Linked DNA regions of Homo sapiens: region 1 is linked to region 2. Evidence: promoter capture Hi-C in human tissues and cell types (Jung and others, 2019). All regions are on one chromosome and are shown on one strand. The core of a region is centred on a gene start or on the middle of the fragment in contact, and the rest is flanking DNA. Distances in the headings are between cores, read along the strand shown.

Region 1 (3,322 bases), core at 398-2,897, 52 kb after region 2:
ACTCAAGGATGTTCATTAAAGTATCATTTATAATTGTAAAACAATGGGAACATTGAAAATGCCTATCAATAGTGAATTGGTAGAGCAAATTATTGGAGATCCTTACAATAAAACACTAACCCTTAAAGATAGTGATGAAAATGAAGAGACTTGAATGCCATTTTTCATGAAACAGAATAATAGAACGGCATGTATAGTATCCTATAGCCTGGACAGTATCCTACAATGCCCATTGTATAGTAGGGTATATCAATGTCTATATGTGAAAGGGAGTATTCTGAAAGGGAGGTCACTAAAAAGTAAGTGGTAAGTGTCTTCAGGTCTGAGAGAGTTTTTTTTTTCTCTTTTTTGGGGGGATTTCACATGTTTGAATTTTTACATGGAAAATATGTCATTTTTATAAAAAGAGTAAATATATTTAGTTAAAAATAAACTACCTGTACGATATCAGCTGTGGCATCTCACTGAGTCTCCTGGAAGGCTTTGCGTTTCTTTAGAGCAGCTTTTTCACACTGCAGGTTAAAACCCATGACTGCTTGTGAAATCAGTTTGGTAGGTTATAGACAGCATTAAGAAACAAAAAAAAATGTATAAAATTGAGCATTACCTTGTGAAATAATAATAATTTGATAAATACGTCTGTAAGTCCCATTTGTGAGGTAAAATGCTATCCTTTTCTAGGGCCAGGAGCCCTGCTTTGGAGTTTGCTAAAGATGTCCTTCTGAGCAGCCAGGTTCCCAGGGTACACTGAGGAGCCCCTCCACCCCTTGAAGTAAGGAACACAGGGGCCCGCAGGGATGCTGGCTTTCTCCTCATGGCTTACGGCGTCCACACTGGCACTCACATCTCGCTCTTTCTCCTTTCTTTTATCCAGGGCATTGGATGAGCTGTGCTTGTTGAAACTGTAGGATAGAAACACAGCTTTCCATGCCCACCAGCTTGCTGAGGGCCGTGCTGCTGGCACCACAGAGCCACACCCTTGTGAATGTTTGAGGAGAATGTGCAGGGCCCCCTTGTGAGGTTCTGTGGAGGATTCTTTAGTGCTTCCTCTGGACTGAATTTAACATTATGTTGATAATGATTCAAAAGAAGGGTATAGACAGGGAGACCATGTATAGCAATAAGACTAATGACACTACTCATAAAACACTTTATAACTCAAATGCAATATGACCACTGGAAAACGTTTTATTAATTATGTTTTTATTTTCTGTATTTTATGATGCCCTTGAGGACCCAGAGAGAGACTGCCTCTCCCAGGGTTTGCTCATTCCTGGAGATCACCAGCAACTTGCCTGCCAGCAGGTCTTTGATATGCAAACCCACCAGGCTGGAGCGCCCGTGATCAGGATCCTGCAGTCTGGGACACTATCTCCCTGCCCTAATCATCTCAGGGCCAGGTGCCGGGCAGCTAGAGACTGCCCGTGTAACCAGAGCCTTCTGGAATCCCAAACTACCCAGGCCTGAGCCTGCCCAGCCCTCCCCCTGCCTCCCCATTCCTTTTCACCACTCCCAAGGATTTTGCCCAAGTTCTCCTCTCGTCCCCACCCCTGACTGACCTGGTGCTTCTCCACATGGCCCTGAGCGGGGTGGTATGGACTGCCCCTCCTCTTGGGAACTGTAACAAACTATCTTTTCAAAGACAAGCGTCTCCTGATCTGTTGGCCTTGTCGTGTCCAATTAAAATAAATCCTGGGTACATTTTAAAATCAGGGTCAGTCACCTCCAAGCTTTCAAAATTCCCAGATTATTCAGAAATATGAACAGCAGGCTCAAGTCACTGAGGATTTACATCCTCATTTTGCTAACAGATTTAAGACCACAGAGAACTTATTCTGTGAGCAGAGGGGCCACCTGGAGGGTGAATGGCATTTAAAACACACCATAATAAAGTCCTGGGATGGGATAGTCATGGCCTTAATGTTTCCTATGAGAGTTAAGAGGTCTGGATGAAGATGCTCTTCTGTGCTGCCTATTTGCAAGAGCGCTCATTTGTGGCCCCGAATGCAAGGTGAGAATCACCTCTGCCTGGGATGAGTTGGGAATGGAAGCGACACCCTCTAGATAATCATTTCTCACAGGCCTCTTGCTGAAGGTGCTCGGCCTCCCGATGCCCTTTCCTATCACAATGAGCACATACCTGGAGCTATGTCATGCATGGGCTGTGTGTACTCTTTCACGGAAAAGCTTCTCATCTTCCTTGCCAAAGGATGGTGTAAAAACTTTCAGGCCAGTTCACACCAGGGAGAGTCTATGCTGGACGCATTCATGCTGCTAGAACAATTCGACAACAGGAAATTGTCAGCTGATTTCTTAAGCTCCCGGGAGCTTACGAGGGGAGTCCAGGATCCCTCCTTCTGGATTCAAGCACTATACCAATTCACTTACAAAAGAGAAATGCTCTAGGAGAACAGGAGTTATGTACTGAAACATCACAGCAAACAAGGTAGTCAGCGCTTTCCCATGTCTGTGGGCTGGTCCTAGTGGCCCTTAGGAGGAGATGCTTGGTGGATTCCGTAAGTGCCCTGTGAAGCTCTCCTGTTTCCAGGCATGGCATGCTGGATCTGCTGGGGCAGGAGGGGTGGGTGGAGTGGAGACCATATGACACTGTATATGCCTATGCCTAACAATAGAACTTCTCTAGACCCTGATTTCCTGAATTTTGGGAGAAGCCATATTTCAATTACGTCTCAATGATAGGTGAAGTAGGGTGGTTGTAGGGAAAAACACATGTTGAGAATTGTCCCAGCAAAAAACAACCCCTGACCTGCCCTCCCAGTGTCAGGCCTGCATTCTCTCTGCTCCGTAACTGCCCACATGTATGGGGGGCTTACCAAGTGCTTAGTTCCACCCATGTGTCGCCTCTTCAGTCCTTACAGTGACTGTGTCAGGGTTATTATTACAGCTTATTAGCATGGAGCCTTACCCAGAGGTTGAAGAACTTATCTGAAGTAAGCGCAGTGAGAGTAGGGTATGGATTTGAGCCTGGTATGTGCCACACTGAAGCTCACACTCATAACCCAAACCACATTGCCCCAGTGGCCCCATATCCAGCCAAAATTCACCACGGGTTCCTTCTACACAGTGAGCGGGAGGGTCAAATTAAAAGATTTGTTACAGTTTGTTACAGTTCCCTTCTGGAAGCAATTCAGTTTCAAGCATGTTTTCCTCTCCGCAGAGGCAGCCATGACTGGCCACTTCATGTGCTCCTGGAGAAGGGCTTGCACCAGCCGTTTTCAGGAAAGTCAAGCAGCTGTTGACTCCTGAGTCTGGGTGAATTTGTGTGAAGAGCATAAGGCGCTGTTTCTTAACCAAAACGCTT
Region 2 (3,649 bases), core at 336-2,835:
AGGTAGGGCGACATAAGCACAGAAGACAAATCTTAGAAAACCCTAGAACAACAGTCCTGTGCAGCCACATGCCCCACAGCCCTAGTAACTTAGGGAGTGATGTGCCTCCCATTTCCACACAAACACATCCAGGCATTGCACAGTGCTAGGCCCTACGACATCCGTACCCCAACATTTTCAACAGTGCGTGCTACACAGCCCAAGCTCTAGGCCCCATTGGGCACCCCACCTATGCAGGTGCCCATGCACTGGGCTAGCAACTGTCAGTAAAGGTCCCCTTCCTGTATGTCCAGAGTCCTTCAGCTCCAGCTTCTACAAGAATCCATGCAGCTAGGCCTGGCTGGGGGAGGAAGGGGACAGGGAAGTTGGCCAAGGCTCCCATGTGTGTGCATGTGGGGGTGGTTCTTGACCTTAGCTGCTTGGTACGGGGCTGTCACCTCCTTACCCTGGCACTGTCGGACCTGGTGGCTTCCTTCTCTATTTCCTGCCTCAACTCTCAGCCTCCTTTTTCTGGAAGTTGTGTGCTCTGACTTTGGAGGGATTGGGACCTCAGACCTGAGCCCAGGTGCAGATGGGAGGGTGGTGAACTGGTCGCGCCTCCTTCCTCCTTGCTACACCGAAGGTCCCAAGGGCCCTTTGCCACCCTTGCTACCCCTGGGTCCCTCAGCGCGCCCCGCAGAGCTCGGGCCCCCTCAAGAGAGTTAACTTGGCAGTGCCCAGGAGCCAGAGAGCGATCCAGAGAGCGCTGTTGGGCAGCAGGGGTGGGGAGGTGGGGGACGACTGACCCCTGACTCCTCATCCGGCCACCAGAAACCACCTGCTGAGGGGGCCGGGAACTGACGACTGAGAGCCCGGGCCGATTGTTAGAAGCTGCTGAGAACCAGCTCTTCCCCTAATCCCGGTCGACGAGGGCAGGCTGTGCCGGGTTTTGTTTCGCAGCCCCTCGGCAGCAGCGCCTCCCAGCCCGAGCTCGGTTCTCGGCCCCCTTTCCAGCTGCCCCCAGCGCGCGCAGCGCACACACACACACACACACACACACACACACACACCCCAGCGCGCGCCCGGGAGGACATGGCGTGGGCACCGATGGGGACGCAGAAAGGGGCTCTGTGCGCGGCGGGGCGCCCGCGGGGGCGCGGGGAGCACTGACCTGCGGCGACGAGTCCGGAGCGTCTCCGGTGCGGTCCATCGCGGGCAACGGCCCCTACGCCCCGGCCCCGGCGCCCCTAGACCGCTGCCCTGGGCCGCGTGCGGCTCCCTCCCCGGGGACTGTCGGGCTCCGGGCCCCCGGGGGCCACTTCATAGCCGCGGGGTCCGCGCGCCCGCCCGCCCCGCCCGGCCCCGCCGCCCCGGCCCGGCTCGTTCTGGGCTCAGCGAGGCGGCGGCCGAAGGCTGGGAGCGCGCGGGAGGGAGGGCGCGGGCAGGGAGGCGGGGGGCGGGGGGCGGGGAGGGGGAGCGGGGAGGGGGAGCGGGGAGCGGGCGCGGGGGCGAGAGGGGCGAGGGGGGCGCGCGGCCGGAGCCGAGCCGACCGGGCCGGCGCAGAGTCCCCGAGGTGGCGGCGGATGCGCCGGTGCCGCCGCGGCTCTGCCGGCGCCTCCCGCCCCGCCCCCACCCGCTCTCCGCCCCCGCCCCGCCCCCGCCCCGAGCCCGCGCCAGCGCCGGCGGGACCCGAGCTGCTAATGGTCGGTACCAACCTCGCCAGCCTAGGCGGGGGCGCGAGGAGGGAGGCCGGCGAGGGGACCCCCCCCCGGGATTGGTATCACCTCCCCACCGCCCCCCACCCTCCCCCGGCACCGTCCCCCGCGGAGGCGGCTCCCGCTTCAGGCGGCGGAGCAGGGGTGGCGGGCAGGGGCCGAGCGCACCCCCAGATCTCGGCTCTCGAGAGTTAAAGCTCGGCCCCCGCCTGCACCCCCATTCCACCCCGCCTCCATCCTGGCTGCTCCTGGCGCCCAGCTTGGCAGCCTCTCTCAAAGGGTGATTGTTTCCGGCCGGGCTGCTGCAGGAGGGCGGGGGGCGGCGCTCTGGGACCGAGAGGCCGAGCTGGGAAGCCGGTGGGGGATGCGGCTCCTTCCTTGGCTCCAGGCACCCCGGATGGGAGGTGGCCGGTGGGGGCGGACGGTGCCGTGCCGGGGTACGGGGTCTGCTGCCCCGTGGAAGGGCACCTCGAGCCGCCGCGCGTCAGCCTCACCCCAGCCTCCCCTTCCGGGCCGGTGCACCCGGCGTTCCGGAGAGAGGCCCGGGAGGCCTGCGTGGGCGGACGGGCGCGGGGAGGCCGGGGGCAGCGGGATCTCCAGGAGTTTCCCGGGCCTCTGCCGCGGTGTGTTGGTCGGCGGGGGACGGAGGCCAGTGAGTGGGCGCGCACTTGGACGTATGTGGGTGCACTGGTAGGGTGCCTCTGTGGAGCTGTATATTCCAGATACTCCTTCAGCTTGTCGGAGACTTTGAAGCCATCCTTGCACTCGTTTTAGAGGTTGGCATCTCCCGGTGCTCTTGGACACCTGTATTCGGGCCACACCCGCTGTGTCCTCTTCACAGCCCCAGGAGAAGGCCACCTCCCATGGCGGGGTTCGCGGCGGGACCAGGGACTGTCGGTACTTTCTCTAGGGTCTCCCTCCTTCCCGGGAAACCAGTTCCAGCCCCACTGCTAGGCACTGCTTAACCAGAGCTGTGCCCCCGTGCTATGGGCTGGGGCTGAGGACCACGGGCCTCTTTTCCATCAGCTTTCCTGCCCTGTTAGGACCAAGCCGGGCCCTGCTCTTCCCACTGAGGATGTGCAGGTGGGGAGGGGGCAGAGACTCCAGAATCAGCCCCTTTGGTCAAGATTTTGAGGGGAGGAAGGCACCTCACCGTCCGTATCATGCCACAGACATGTGAAAGTGTCCTTAGTGACTATCTCTAGGGATAACTGCTCCTCCTTGTCGTGCGCTCTTTCATTGTTGTGCTTAACAGCCCCCTTTGCCGGCAAGAAACTTCCTCTGAATCTAACCTCAGTACCTCCTGCTGCGGTACAGGAGCATTTCCCCCTTCTCTTAATGAGTGGAATCCCAGCCAGCCTTGCTCCGCCTTCTTCTGCCCCTACTACAACCCTCTCTTTTAGACTCTGCTAAGAGACCTTTCCTAAGTCGGTGTTCTCTGGTATTTTCCTAGTCTCCATACTCTGCTTCTCCTTAGACTCCACACCAGCTGAAGGGAGGGGAAGGGCAGGTGCAGAAGCAGGATGGGCGGGGGTACCAGAGAGCACCAAGGAGGGGCCAGGCCGTCCAGGAGGGCACATTGCCTCCCTCCTCTGCTAAGCCAGCCAGCCGCAGTCACACAATCACCAAATGGGAGGACAGAAATGACCGTGAAGACTGTCTCGTTCCAGACCCTCATTTTACCAACAGGGAAACACACCCATGAGGGGTGATCTCAAGAGAGCTCAGGGACATGGCGACGAGGAGGCCTGGGTTTCAGGCCGATTCTGAAGGCACTAGCAAAAGACTTCCCCTCAGGGCTGGTTTCAGTAATGAAACAGAGGGTTGGACTAAGTGGGCTGTGGTCCGACTTGTCCTGCTGGGCTGTGGCTCGGAGATGCTGTCTGCAGGGGTTCTCGGCTTTACCTCAGCATTCTGGCAGGAACAATTGTGATAATAAAGCCGCTTTCAAGGGA

What was found. Contacts are between HindIII fragments. The study calls those that stand out against the background at their distance.
Region 1: a fragment that was not itself captured here is called in contact with the fragment with the promoter of B3GAT1 in region 2 in 2 of the 25 tissues and cell types used here (dorsolateral prefrontal cortex and pancreas).

Annotation. Positions count from the first base shown.
Region 1 is chr11:134,463,008-134,466,329 of GRCh38, forward strand. All of the region lies in intron 1 of B3GAT1-DT (B3GAT1 divergent transcript), which reads left to right. Among named protein-coding and RNA genes, the nearest start is that of B3GAT1-DT, 28 kb to the left of the region's middle. RefSeq lists an enhancer at 2,991-3,322. The HindIII fragment of the contact is 3,603 bases long and covers 1-3,322 here.
Region 2 is chr11:134,410,657-134,414,305 of GRCh38, forward strand. B3GAT1 (beta-1,3-glucuronyltransferase 1) reads right to left here and starts at 1,586. Exons shown (of 6, transcript NM_054025.3): 1 at 1,151-1,586. RefSeq lists an enhancer at 175-734. The HindIII fragment of the contact is 21,477 bases long and covers 1-3,649 here.